2 separate regions of the Homo sapiens genome follow, and region 2 is linked to region 1. Evidence: promoter capture Hi-C in 16 types of primary human blood cells and fetal thymus (Javierre and others, 2016). All regions are on one chromosome and are shown on one strand. Each heading gives the region's core, a stretch centred on a gene start or on the middle of the fragment in contact. The rest is flanking DNA. Distances are from core to core; before and after follow the strand shown.

Region 1 (7,677 bases), core at 3,122-5,621:
TACTCGGGTGGCTGAGGCAGGACAATTTTGCTTGAACCCAGGAGGTGGAGGTTATAGTGTGCTGAGATGATGCCATTTCATTCCAGCCTGGGCAACAGAGCAAGACTCTATTTCCAAAAAAAAAAAAAAAAAAAGGCATTCATAAAGAAACAAAAATAAGGTTTATAAACAAAGGAACTTGGAGTCAAGCCCAGGCTGTCTGACTAGAATTCATATCACAACTATGCTACATTTCTCAAAGACAAACAAATTAAATTATTAGAGAATAAGTGTGGCTGGTAAATCCTACCTCAGATTCACCTGTGCTGTTTATTAAAATTTCAGACTCCTGAGCCTAATCCTAGACCCACTGAATCATTCTCCAAGAGCAGTTTGGACTTTCATTTTAACAAGCATCCTAAGGAGAGTACTTTATCTACGTACTCTAAAGTCTGAGAACCACCAGGATAGACATATCTTGCAGAACTCAACTTGTATGACACTCCAGAAGTCATTTCGTAACATTTAGGTGCACCTCTAACCTATCTTCCATGTTTTCTTAGATAAACAAAAAAAAATTTATACAAATATTATAGTATGTTGTAAATTAATTCAAACATACTTTATTAAAGTGTATTTCAGACTTATTTGATAGTAGTCCAAAGTAAGACATACATTCACATAGTGAGCAAAGACCTATATACATATAATGGAACAAAACAGTCATAAAGCGGTATTTATGCTCACAACATGCCAGGCACTCTAATGGCTTCCAATATATTAATTAGAAAAAATATACTGGTCCATGACTCACTGAACTGATTTATGACCACTAATGGGCCAAACCTGGCAATCTGAAATCACTGCCTTATTAGATAACCAAGGACACAGTGTTTTGCATTCTTCTGTGGGCAATCAATGAAAACACAAATGAGTAACTAGAGGCAAGCCCCTGAATTGCAAAAGCACTTTCCTAATAGAAACAGCAGACACTAAACTTCTGAACTATCTGAACTATGACTGCTTATGATAAAAACTGATACAATCACTTTACTACGTATATCTTAGTACACATGATTACAAGAGATAACTGGTTTATCAATTTAAGGGCACAGAACTACCTATGTTAAGATTTACAATCCATAATAATAATTTACATGCTAGTCACAACAATTCACTTGAATTCAAATTATAAGGTCTAGATCTTTATGTAAAGCATATTTATAATCAAATTTAAGTCAGTGGATGAAAAGGAGTTGATAATCATTCCAGATACAATTATAAGTCATAGTATTTTCTTAAAAATTAGTAAAAATGGAAGGAGCAGAACCAACTAGAGGTTAAAAATTCTATCGGAAGTGCTTTGGCTCAAATCGTGGGATAATTCTAAGAAATTTCCCTCTGGAAGGATGGCTCATTTGCACACTTGAGGCTTTCCTGATGAATTCCTCAATTCAGGAAGGTAAGTCTATTTTTATAGTATTCACCCTCTTCTTGAAACCATTTCTTTAATTAATCTTGGATTCTGCAAAATGTCAGGACAAATAATAAAACAGTCTAATGTTACAATTACGTAGGAAATTCATTGACTTTATCACAAGCCTAATTATTTTTAATCTTGTAAATTACATGTTTGCTATATTGACTAAACATTAACCTTGTACTTGGGTTAATGTTTGTCATTAACATTAATGTTTATGTTTGTTCTCCGCTCTCTTCATTCTTATAATACACACCCAATATCACTGAGTATAAGCATCACCACAACTTAGCCTACCATTAGATCTGGAGTTGTATAAGAATTTTTTAAATACCATGATTCAACCGGTCAAACACCCTTACAACAAAGAACTGGGCAAAACAGTCCTATAATGGTCCACTTACAAACTATTTGATTTCATAAAATTCCAGTGAGACAAAAAATCTGGGCAGAGGTCATAACATTTTTTAAAAAATTAGAACTAGAAGAGACCTTGTAAGAAATTTAACTGAACTCTTGACCCAACACGTACATTTTCTCAAAAATAAGTGATTTGTTCAGTTTACTTAATTTCTTCAGTGAAGCGGAACTGTTCCAAGTAGTACATCCCAATTTGGAGCTCTGGGTGTTACAAAGTTCTTTTACATAGAAACAAAATGTGCCTCCCCTTTTGCTCTTACCAAGCAGTCATAGTTTCCCTACAGTATGATGCCATTCCTTCAAGTTTTCCTGAAATGTTTTCTAGTTTCTTTAGTTTTATCCTACTGTTATGAAGCACCCTAAATAAAACACTAGAAACCAGAATTAGTCCTTTGAACAATGTTTTACAAACTGTGGTGTGTGACTCTGAGCATCAAGAAATCAACATTTTAAAAATTAAAATAAAAGAAAAAATCAGAATATACGGTATAAGGGCTAATATCTTTTTGTGAAACCTGTTTCAGATATACTGATTATACAACTATTAACTGGATTGCAAAGTAAAATGTACTTCTTACTGTGTTTGCAGTCAGAAACTCTTTTGAGTCACTACTTTAGAGTATGCTATTGTGAGATAGGTAAAATTTCACCCAATAATATCAATATACGTGCAAAATTCTGTATTGAACTACCACCAACAGTACTGGAAGAAATTAAGAGTCTATGTACCGAATACAGAAATATTTATCTGTGGGAGAAACAGCCAAAGTAGGTGGTTTAAATAAAACAAAACATACACACTGAGCTGGAACGTGAACACAGAATATGGTACAGACTCAGATTCCTACTAAAGTTACAAGCAAGAGTTCTCATCTCTTGATGGGCACTGACCCCAACAACAGGCCTGGGCACAGGTCCAGCACTTAACTCAGAGGGATGCCGTGTGCTGCTGCATGGTCTGTTACCAACATCTCATAGAAGAGAGCAGAAACCACTTAGGAACACAGCTGATTTAGGAAGGTTTTTCTAAACACACATAGTTTAGGAAGGTTTTTCTCTTAATTAAGATTTATCTTTCTGATGGAACCAGATGACAGGGAGATAGATGCCTGCATGGTGAGCGTTTTCATATATTACCTCTTAATTCTCACAACAACCTGATGAGGAAGGTGTTATTATCCAACTTTAAAGTAATTTTCCAAAGTCATATAGCTCCTAAATCTAAAGATTTTGTTATTTTTTAAATACTAAAATTGTCCCATACCACCAATATGCACAATGTGCAGTGGATGACTATCCGCTCAGAAATGGCCAACAAATAGGTAACAAGTTTGTAATTCCAGATTAATCTCTGTCACCTCCAACTAGTGACTAGTCTTTTTATTTTCCAGTTTTTACAAAACTTTAATTTTTGAATTGATAGATTATATTTGTACATATTTATGGGGCACATGTGATATTCTGTTACATGCATAGAATGTACAATGATATTGTTACATGCATAGAATGTGTACTGATAAAGCATACATAGACGCACAGATAAGTGCATAAAATGTGTAATGACTAAAGTCAGGGTATTTAGGGTATTCCAAAGCCAAAATTGAGTGCTTACTCATTTGCCTCACTGCAATAGAGAGTCTAATGTCAACATTCTAAAAGTTAGGTGTACTATGAATACTACTTCATCTGAATGCACCAAAGGATAATCTCCGAAAATATTCCTTTACCTGGACAGGGTGGGGGAAGGAAGCGAGAGATGTGGAGAGAGACGGAGCGACGTCCTGGCCCTCTGTGACCTCCGTGCCAGGAAGAGGGACCCAGGATGTTTGAGAGTTTTGCTACCAGCCTTAAGCACCGAGAGAGGTGTCACTCAGTGCGCAGCTGCACCGGCTAAGTTTTTTAGACGCGTTGCCCTCGGCAGCGGGTTTGGACCCAAGGTCGCGTCGACACTGGCCTCAGCATCTGACCGCGGGCGGAGCCCAGGTGCGCGCGAGGCCCTGCCACCCTCCCTCGCCCGCGGGCGCTTCTCCCTTGCCGGAACCGCCCGGCCCCGCCCGAGGCCTGCCCCGGGAGCCCCGCGGCGAGTGTCGCCACGCTCACCTCCTCGCTGTGCGTGGACGGGCACTTCTTCCGCAGGCGGCCCCAGTTCAGCAGGTTCCCCGTCTGCAGGTGCAGGGTGCGGGCCCGCGCCAGGAGCGCCTTGGCCGCGCGGCTGTCGGTGCCCATGGCAGCGGCCGCCCAGGGGCCGCGCAGCGAAGGGGCTGCGGGCGGGCGGGCAGGCAGGCGGCCGCCCCACAGGACGCGGTGCCCGAGGCCCGAGAGAGACCCGAGAGGGAGCGCGAGGCTGCCGGCGCCGCGCGGCTGGAGCCTGGTCTGCGCTCGGGCCCGAGGGAGGCCGGACGGCGGCTGGGCGGCGGCGGGAAAGGAAGGCACCGGTGGCTGCGGCTCCGGCTCCGGCTACTGCGGCCGCAGCGGGAGAGCTGATTCCAAACTGAGGGAGCTGTTTCCTGGAAGACAATGACTAAGCAGAAATCGTAGCCGAGAAAGTGCTTCGTAACCGTTACTCATCCCGCGGCGGGGCAGGGGCGGGGCGCGAATGGGCTGCGGGACGCCGGCCCGCAAGTGACTGGCCCTTGGCCTGCGGCGGGCGTGGCGACGGGTGGTGCGCGGCGGGCGCGCGGGTCGAGAGAGCGTGGCGGCGCGGCCCGGAGCGCAGCGCGCGGCAGGGCTCCCCCTGGCGGTCAGAGGACAGCGCGAGGCAGACACCGCCTCCGCCTGGTGAGGTAGACACCGCCTCCGCCTGGTGAGGTCTCCCGGCGTTCAGGTCGCGGCTCCGCCCACGGCCGCCCCAGGGTGGGCTTCCTACACGTCTCTTTAAAGGGCAGCCTGAGCGGCCACCGGGACTCGGAAATGCTACGTAGTTTTCGTTCTCAGAAGCAGCTGTTTATGCGCAAGCGCCCCCTTCTTCTTTTCGCTTTGCTACCTTCAAGGACCTTCTCCCAAACTGCTAATTTTTCTTCATCCGTTAAAGGTCTATTGATTCACATTATTTGCTGGCAGTGTGTGAAGTCAACGAACAAGACTGAGTCTTTGCCCTTGAGACGCGTACACTCTACCCAGAGACAAGTTCTAAGCACAGGAAACAAGTAATTTTATAAGAACATCATAGGGCAGTTATTCTCCAGATGAATTCAGATTAAAGAGGACACTTGAGCCGGTGAGATCACAGAAAGCTTTTATCACCCACCCCTTTAGAGGTGGTCGAGATTATTTACCCCTATTAAATTTCACGTGTGGTGGTGGACTCGGTATAAACATCAAATTGAACATGTATTGAGCTTTCCTCAACAATCTTTCACATTCGTTGAGGTGAATCAGATTATTAAAGGCAAAATGAGATTCTCATTATAAGCGGGGACAATATAGCTATTGAAAAGAGAGATGAACCAGTTGGTAAAATGGTAAGAATTAGGGGAGGGATGGGAAAAAAGATCTTTCTAGGAAGTTAGAAATTGAGCCTGATGTTGAGTAAATATTTGTTGGCTGAATGAATGATGGTAAGAGTTCATTGAACGAGCTTGCGCTGCTTTTTTTTTTTTTTTTTGGATATTGATTTTTTATTATAGTGAAAGAGCTACCCACAAGCACCACCACTACTTAAACACATTTTGATGCACTGTAACATACAATTAACATTTGTTGTAAATAATTCCAACATATACAAAAATAGCAAGAATACTATAATGAAACCCGATATAACTATCTTCTGAACTCAAGATTGAATAAGATTTGTCTATACTTTTTGTTTTATAATACTTTAAGTTCTAGGGTACATGTGCACAATGTGCAGGTTTGTTACATATGTATACAAGTGCCATGTTGGTTTGCTGCACCCATTAATTCGTTATTTACATTAGGTATTTCTCCTAATGCTATCCCTCCGCCAACCCCCCACCCCATGACAGGCCCCAGTGTGTGATGTTTCCCACCCTGTGTCCAAGTGTTCTCATGGTTCAATTCCCACCTATGAGTGAGAACATGCAGCGTTTGGTTTTCTGTCCTTGCGACAATTTGCTCAGAATGATGGTTTCCAGCTTCATCCATTCCCTACAAAGGACATGAACTCATCCTTTTTGATGGCTGCATAGTATTCCATGGTGTGTATGTGCCACATTTTCTTAATCCAGTCTATCATTGATGGACATTTGGGTTGGTTCCAAGTCTTTGCTATTGTGAATAGTGCCAAAATAAACATACCTGTGCATGTGTCTTTATAGTAGCATGATTTATAATCCTTTGGGTATATACCCAGTAATGAGATCGCTAGGTCAAATGGTATTTCTAGTTCTAGGCCCTTGAGGAGTCACCACACTGTCTTCCACAATGTTGAACTAGTTTACACTACCACTGACAGTGTAAAAGTGTTCCTAGTTCTCCACATCCTCTCCAGCACCTGTTGTTTCCTGACTTTTTAATGATTGCCATTCTAACTGGTGTGAGATGGTATCTCATTATGGTTTTGATTTGCATTTCTCTGATGACCAGTGATGATAAGCATTTTTTCATGTGTCTGTTGGCTGCATAAATGTCTTCTTTTGAAAAGTGTCTGTTCATATACTTTGCCCACTTTTTGATGGGGTTGTTTGATTTTTTCTTGTAAATTTAAGTTCTTTGTAGATTCTGGATATTAGCCCTTTGTCAGATGGGTAGATTGCAAAAATTTTCTCCCATTCTGTAGGTTGCCTGTTCACTCTGATGGTAGTTTCTTTTGCTGTGCAGAAGCTCTTTAGTTTAATTAGATCCCATTTGTCTATTTTGGCTTTTGTTGCCATTGCTTTTGGTGTTTTAGTCATGAAGTCCTTGCCCATGCCTATGTCCTGAGTGGTATTTCCTAGGTTTTCTTCTAGGGTTTTTATGGTTTTAGGTATAACATTTAAGTCTTTAATCCATCTTGAATTAATTTTTGTATAAGGTGTAAGGAAGGGATCCAGTTTCAGCTTTCTACATATGGCTAGCCAATTTCCCCAGCACCATTTATTAAATAGGGAATCCTTTCCCCATTTCTTGTTTTTGTCAGGTTTGTCAAAGATCAGATGGTTGTAGATGTGTGGTGTTATTTCTGAGGCCTCTATTCTGTTCCATTGGTCTGTATCTCTCTTTTGTACCATGCTGTTTTGGTTACTGTAGCCTTGTAGTATGGTTTGAAGTCAGGTAGCATGATGCCTCCAGCTTTGTTCTTTTTGCTTAGGATTGTCTTGGCAATGCAGGCTCTTTTTTGGTTCCATATGAACTTTAAAGTAGTTTTTTCCCATTCTGTGAAGAAAGTCATTGGTAGCTTGATGGGGATGGCATTGAATCTATAAATTACCTTGGGCAGTATGGCCATTTTCACACTATTGTTTCTTCCTATCCATGAGCATGGAATGTTCTTCCGTTTGTTTGTGTCCTCTTTTATTTTGTTGAGCAGTGGTTTGTAGTTCTCCTTGAAGAGGTCCGTCTCATCCCTTGTAAGATGGATTCCTAGGTATTTTATTCTTTTCAAAGCAATTGTGAATGGCAGTTCTCTCATGATTTGGCTCTCTGTTTGTCTGTTATTGGTGTAGAGGAATGCTTGTGATTTTTGCACATTGAATTTGTATCCTGAGACTTTGCTGAAGTTGCTTATCAGCTTAAGGAGATTTTGGGCTGAGATGATGGGGTTTTCTAAATATACAATCATGTCATCTGCAAACAGGGACAATTTGACTTCCTCTTTTCCTATCTGAATACCCTTTATTTCTTTCTCTTGCCTGATTGCC
Region 2 (7,570 bases), core at 3,828-6,327, 600 kb before region 1:
CCACCTGCTACGTGGGCCCGAGGCTGACACCAAGAAGCCATGAAATGCTACAGCTGGACACCAGAACTCATATCGTATCGTTCAACAATGTACAGTCAAACACTTAATGTTATCTCTGTAAACCAATGAGAATTCCTGTCAAACAACTTTTTTTTAAATTATTATTTTTTGAGACAGGGTCTCTGTCACCCAGGCTGGAGTGCAGTGGCACAATCTGAGCTCACTGCAGCCTCAACCTCCTGGGTTCAAGCAATTCTCCCACCTCAGCCTCCTGAGTAGCTGGGGATACAGGTGCCCACCACCATGCCTGGCTTATTTTTTTATTTTTTGTACAGACAGGGTCTCACTGTGTTTCCCAGGCTGGTCTCAAAGTCCTCCACCTCGTCCTCCCAAAGTGCTGGGACTACAGGCATGAGCCAGCACACCTGGCCTGTCAAACAACTTTCTATCAGCCCACTCCTGATAATTTTTAATTATCTTTTTTTCCTTTGAAAGCTTGCTTGTAACTGAGGCTGACGGAGCTCATATCCAAGGTAACTGGGTCTGAGTCTTTAGAACAACTGTCCTTATCTTGGCTCAAGTAAACTTTTTTTTTTTGTCCTGAGATGGGGTCTTGCTATGTTGCCCAGGCTGGCCTTGAACTTCTGGGTTCAAGCAATCCTCTGCCTCAGCCTCCTGAGTAGCTGTGCCCAGCTTAAGTAAACTCTTTAAATCATATTTTGTGCCTTAGCATCTACCTTTAGGTCGACAATGGTAAAGAATAAAAGCGAAGATTTTTAACACTGGATTAAGTAGGAAATTCACAAAACATAATATCAAGCTCTGCAAAGAGCTATCTTAGCATAAATAAAAGGATGGTCTTTACGTATAAACTGTAAGAAAAGGACTCCTAGTTGAATAATATTTTTCCAAGTACATTCATTAATATGTAAATATCAATTAATAGCATCATATAGATTCATTTGCAGAGTTAAATTCCCATGTGGAAATTCTGTAGAGTTGAATGAAGACAATGACAAATGGGTAGAAAAAACTTCCCTTGAATGGACTTCTTGCTATTCTCTCGCTGCCATTTCATTTTGTCAACGATGTAGCTCATTTTCAATAATTAAAGTATGTTACACCCAAATAATCTATCTTCCCCTATTTCTACACTTCTAACTTAGCTTTGCTGCCAAAGCACACTGAAAAAAAGCCGTATGTCAGGACATATAACTTGAGTATTGGGATTTTTGTTCTAAAGGTCTTTTCCTCAAAATGCAATTAGGATCCACATGCAGGAAATCTAAACAGCCACTAGAGGGTGCCAGTCACATAATGACTGAGTAATACCTCCTTCCCCTTTGAGCTATTTCTAAATCTGAAAAGCCAACTGTTCTTGGTAAAGCCTTAGTAAATATGTTTATATTATTTCTCACTTGTGATTTGTAGTGATGTATAAACATGAGACCAGAGATAGCTATGGCCACAATTATTTCACCCTGACGTAAAAATGACTTCTGTGGTCTTCATTACAGGACAAAATGACCAGTCTTTCCTGCCCCTCTGTCATTTTTTTTCTCAGTTGCATAGTTTATCCCATTCTTTTATTGCTCAACTGAATGTCTGTAGGTATACTGACTGACTTTAAAGTGGTCAGATTTATCTTTCCTCCCTTTCTCTGTTTCTGTTTTTCAACCTTTGTTCTTTTTCCCTTATATATTCCCCAGCATTTTTTCTTCTTTATATTCCTTTCTTCAAACATTTTATTCCCAAAAGCAATGTTACAAGAAATAAGAAGGCCATGCTATACAGAACTCTAGGAGTAAGAAAAGCCTAACTTAGGAATTAGATGGAGATAGAATCTGCCTACTTAGTATAACACACCTTTGGGGCTGGTCTTCCACAGCAGGCCCTGAATGAACGTAGACTTCATCAGCAGGACAGAAATGAAATCTCTCAGAGCCCTCCTAGAGGAGGAAAGGGATAAACATGGGTGATTCTAAGGTATCTGGGAATGTAGTTCACTATAATGCACAGTGTTAGGCAAAAGGACAAAAATCTATTACTACTATAGAGAAAAGGTCAAAAGAGCCTATAAACTCAAACAAATATAAAAATTGCCATGCTAGTGAGACCCAAAATCATTTAGGTTTTTATTCTTGAAACAATGTTACAAAGAAAGTTTTGTGGAAATGTTTGGTTGCATATTGTGACTCCCTTAAAATGTCCCTAAAGCATCTGTTTGTCTTTATAATCAATCCACTTTGGCTTTTCATCCCTGAAGTATTTAAATTCTTTTGGAGACTTTTCTATTTCAGCCTGTAAATCCTTTGGAGATTAGAAGCTCCATGTGATTATAGTCATTTATTTATTCAAAAAAGCATTACTGGCCCATGTGGTGGCTCACACCTGTAATCCTAATACATTGGGAGATACACGAGGATTGCTTGAGCCCAGGAGTTTGATACCAGCCTGGGCAACATAGTGAGACCCCGTCTCTACAAAAAATAAAATTAGCTGGGTATGGTAGCACATGCCTATAGTCCCAGCTACTTGAGAGGCTGGGGTGGATCACTTAAGCCCAGGAGGTTGAAGCTGCAGTAAACTGTGATCACACCACTGTACTCCTGCCTGGGTGACAGAGCAAGACCCTGTTTCAAAAACAAACAAAAAACCGAAAAAGCATTATTGTGCACTTAATTTTGTGCCAGGCACTATTTAATGCATGTCCTGAGAATATTAAGATGAAAAGACAGCATCTCCTTACTCTTGAAAAAATCAGCCTAATGAGAAAGGTGCTCTTGTAAATAAAGTGTAAAGAGGTCATCTTGTCTTAAATTACCTTTTGCAAGTATGCCTCCTTCCTCGAGTATTCTGGAATTTATTGAGTAAATTCAAGTAGATGCTAAAACATTTATAAACCAAGATATTCTACAAATATGTTATTCTTGTATTAAGATGTAAGTTTTAAGTGTGTATCATTGTTCTTTCTTTTCTGATTCTGACTTTCAGTCATTCTTCAAAACTGTTTTTCAGTGCCTCCTATGTGCCAGGCACTGTGGTAGGATGCTGGGATACAAATATGAATATGACATTATCTCTGACTCTCCAAGTTATTTATTTCACATCTCCTCTCTCCTCAAACCTCCAACACTTCATCTTTCCTCACTCTCAACTGGTGATCTCAATTTACACTTCACTGAAAGAACAGAAGCCTCAGGCAGTAATTATATCTTCCCACCATCGAATCTACCAACCTACCTGAATCTGAATACATGTTCTCCCTCCTTTCACAATGAGGTTGTCCTTTCCAGGGCTCTGGATCCCATGCCCTCCTGCCTATTTGAGGATTTCACTCCTGCCATTATGTGTCCTCTTTTCTGCATCATGCCTTAGTATTGTCTTGCTTGACTAAACTCTCTCTAGACTCTCCATCCTTGCTGGCTTCTGCCCTCTATCTCAGCATGCCTTCACAGTAAAGCTTATCAAGAGTTGCCTATACTTGCTCTCTCTACTTTCTAACTTCTCTTTCTCTGTTCAACCCACTCCAATTATATGTTCATTGCATCTGCTGAAATAATATTTACCAGATCTGTCACCAGTGACTTTGACCTTGCCAAAGATTATGTCAATTTTCAGTCCTCTCCTATCTGACCACTCTAAATTTGGCAGAGGTGACCATTTCCTCCTATTTAAAATCCATTCTGTAGTTGGCTTCTGTAACCATATGCTCTCAATTTTCCTCCTATTTCACTGGTGTTTCTTCTTGGTTACTTCTTCCTCTACTCAACCCCCCTAATCTCCTTGAATATTTAATTGCCTTCTCACATCTCCACTTGTATTTCTTAAGGCATCTCAAATGTAACAAGACTGAGAAAAATTATTGGTCTTTCCAGAATTTCCTTTTCTCTAGAATTTCTTCCAGAATTTCTCCTTTTCCAGTTTTGTACATCTTGAATAAAGCATCCCCACTCACCTAGTACTTCCTCTCACCACCTTCAAACCAATCCATCAGCAAGTCTTTTCAGCCCCATATGTAAAAAAGAACTTGAATCAAACCTCTTCTCACCACTGTGACAGCTACCACCCTAGTCCAAGTCATCATGTCTTGCTTGGATGACTGCAGTGGCCATCTAATTATTTTCCAGGTTTATCTTCTTGCCCACTATTAGAGAAGCCAGAGAGCCTTCTAAAAACAAAACCACATCTCTGCCCTACTTAACACCCTATGATAATTTTCCATCGCTCTTAGAAAAAAACTGAAGCTCTTTTCCAAAGCCTCTAAGACCTGCATAGCTTTCCTACCACTCTCCCCTTGTTCACTGCACCCTGGCCACATAGGCCTGCTTTACAGCCCTCTCATTTAATGTCAAATGCATTTCTGTCTCAGGCTTTTGCTCTTATTGTTTCCTATGGCTGGAACTCTTCCCATGGCTGGCTCCTTCTCTTTGTTCACTTCCCAGAGCTGTCAGTACAAATTGTCTCCTCAGATCCCTTCACCATTCTATCTAAAATATTCCAGCCACCTATCTCTCACCTGCAAAGTCATTCTGAGCCCCATTACCCTGTTTTATTTCTTCATAACACTTAACATAATCTGAAAGTATCCACTTTTTTTTTTTGTCTCTCTTCTCATTAAATGTAATGAAAGGGCAGGGATCTCATGTGTTTTACTCACCCTTGCATCTCTACTCCAGTGTCTGGCACATAGAGATGTTTGAAAACAGTGATTAAATGAGTGAAAAGTCTAGTCAATGAGTGAAAGAACAGGAAGATGTGAAAGCCAGCAGGTAACAACCCTCGGTGTGATATGAACAGTGACAGAGATAACCAACCAAGGAAACAGTCCATGAAGATAAGTAGCTATGAAATTGCTGGATACTTTTTATATACACCTGACCTAAAATTACATTTTTCTCATTCAGATCTTGAATATTTGAAGATATTAAGTACCTTTTCTTTTCTTTCTTTGTTTTTTTGAGACAGGGTCTCATTCTGTCACCCAGGCTGGAGTGCAGTGGCACCATCTTGGCTCACTACAACCTCCGCTTCCTGGGCTCAAGTAGTCCTCCCATCTCAGTCTCCCAAGTAAATGGGACTACAGGCACACACCACCACGCTTGGTGTATTTTTTGTATAGATGGAGTTTTGCCATTTTGCCTATGTTGGTCTCAAACTCCTGAGCTTATTTGAGCTGCCCACCTCGGCTTCCCAAACTGTTGGAATTACAGGCATGAGCCACTGCGCCCAGCCCTTAAGTACCTTTCATAGAAGAAAGCTCATTTTTTTATTCCTTTCCATTTCCTAGCTCCATGTATTTCTCCCAAATTAAAGCCCATATCTCATTTCTCACCTCCTTTTCATGTACAAAATGTTCTTCCCAAAAACAATAGCAAATAAATAGTTAGAATTAACTGTATCTTTGAAATGCTATAGTTAAATGATTATTTGACTGTGCTAATGGCAGGACAATTGCTTTTATAGCTTCTGTGAAATTCTCTGATATTTACTTCAAAATTAATAGGTGTATTTTAGGTAAATTAACAAAGAGTGTTATATTAAGATTTTTACATCTTTTTTTTTTTAGTCAGGTTCATTGAGGTATAATTTATACACAGTAAAACTCACCCCTTTTAGATATACCTCTGTCAAAAGTATACAGTCATGTACCCACCACCATATAAAGACATAGAACATTTATGTCATCCTAAAGTTTCCTCATGCCTCTTTATAATAAATCACTTCCCCCCCCGGCCCACTGCCTATCATTGACTTGTTTTCTGTCCCTATAGTTTTGCCTTTTCCAGAATGGAATCATGTAATATATACCCTTTTGATCTTTTGATATTGCTTTTGAGATTCATCCATATTGTTACATATATCAGCTGTCCGTTCCTTTTTATTGCTTTATATTTCATTTTATTCCATTGTAATGACTATATTATAAATTTTTTATCCCTTTATATCTTTCTGCGCTGAGTTTTCAGGTATTATATCCAGAAATATTGTTACTTGGCCGGGCGTGGTGGCTCACACCTGTAATCCCAGCATTTGGGAGGCTGAGGTGGGCAGATCACTTGAGGCCAAGAGTTCGAGACCAGCAAGATCAACATGGCAGAACCCCATCTCTACTAAAAATAGAAAAATTAGCCGGGTGTGGTGCTGAGCACCTGTAATTTAGCAACTCGGGAGGCTGAGGCAGGAGAATCACCTGAACTCGGGAGGCAGAGGTTGCAGTGAGCCGAGATCGTGCCATTGCACTCCAGCCTGAGTGACAGAGTGAGTTTCTGTATCAAAAAAAAAAGAAAAAAGAAAAAAGAAAAGAAAAGAAAAAGAAAAGAACTATTGTTATTTTTTGGAAGACATTTTGGTTTTACTAAATAAACATTTTTTGAGCCTCTACCAAGTACCTGTGGATTCTAAGGTGAATAAGATGCATTTTTGTTTTGTGGAGCAGGTGGAAGAATGGAGAATGAGTTTTTTGTTGTTGTTGTTTGTTTTTACAAAGGCCCCAGAGAGGGTAAGTTTTGTTGGGTTGTGAAAACTCTTTGAAACATAAGCACATTAATAATTATGGAATCATTTCACACATCTGTTTTTTACTTCTTTTCACACTTCATCATGTGTGTTCAACTTTATTGATTATAATATTTAGATATATAATTTCCAAATTAAAATTTTAAGATGGGATAATATAGTAATTAAGAATATAAGCTTTAGACCCAGAATAACATTGATTTAATTATTGTGTTCACTTCTTCTTTAGAATTGTAGACAATTGTTTTGTCTTTCCAGAACAGCAATCCCTATTTTTCAGTGAAATGCTTCTTCAAACTGCGTGATTCTCATGGAAGCTGCCACAGCTAGTATCAAACTGAATGGTGAAAAACTGAAAGCCTCTTTTCTAAGATCTGGAACATGGCAAGGATGCCCACTTTCATCACTGTTATTCAACATAGTACTGGAAGTCCTAACTAGAGCAATCAGACAACAGAAAGAAATAAAGGCATCCAAATTGGAATAGAAGAAATCAAACTGTCCTTGTTTGCCAATGATATGATCTTATATTTGGAAAAACTGAAAGAGTCCACCAAAAAACTACTATAAACAAATACACAAATTATAAACAGATTCAGTAAAGTTCCAGGATACAAAATCAACATACAAAAATTAGTAGGATTTCTATATGCCAACAGTGAAAAATCTGAAAAAGAGATTAAAAAAGTAATCCCTTGCTGGAAGTGGTGGCTCATGCCTGTAATCCCAGCACTTTGGGAGGTCGAGGTGGGCAGATCATCTGAGGTCAGGAGTTCAAGACCAGCCTGACCAACGTGGTGAAACCCTGTCTCTACTAAAAATACAAAAATTAGCCGGGTGTGGTGGCGGGCACCTGTAATTCCAGCTACTCAGGAGGCTGAGGCAGGAGAATTGCTTGAACCTGGGAGGTGGAGGTTGCAGTGAGCTGAGGTTGCGCCATTGCACACTAGCCTGGATGCCAAGGGTGAAACTCCGTCAAAAAAAAAAAAAAAAGTAATCCCATTTACAATAGCTACAAGTAAAATTAAATACATAGGAGTTAATCCAAGAA

What was found. The method cuts DNA at HindIII sites, captures the fragments that hold promoters and counts their contacts. A CHiCAGO score of 5 or more calls a contact.
Region 2: a fragment that was not itself captured here is called in contact with the fragment with the promoter of GCLM in region 1 in 2 of 17 cell types (neutrophils and naive CD8 T cells); the score reaches 6.8 in neutrophils.

Annotation. Positions count from the first base shown.
Region 1 is chr1:93,905,059-93,912,735 of GRCh38, forward strand. GCLM (glutamate-cysteine ligase modifier subunit) reads right to left here and starts at 4,372. Exons shown (of 7, transcript NM_002061.4): 1 at 3,980-4,372. The coding sequence starts at 4,105. It overlaps LOC124904221 (a long non-coding RNA gene), which reads left to right and starts at 4,534. Exons shown (of 2, transcript XR_007066230.1): 1 at 4,534-5,096. RefSeq lists silencers at 3,786-3,835, 3,886-4,245, 4,456-4,695 and an enhancer at 4,736-4,895. The HindIII fragment of the contact is 5,335 bases long and covers 1-5,110 here.
Region 2 is chr1:93,303,522-93,311,091 of GRCh38, forward strand. CCDC18-AS1 (CCDC18 antisense RNA 1) reads right to left here. Exons shown (of 9, transcript NR_034089.1): 9 at 6,588-7,570. Among named protein-coding and RNA genes, the nearest start is that of CCDC18-AS1, 39 kb to the right of the region's middle. The HindIII fragment of the contact is 3,233 bases long and covers 3,462-6,694 here.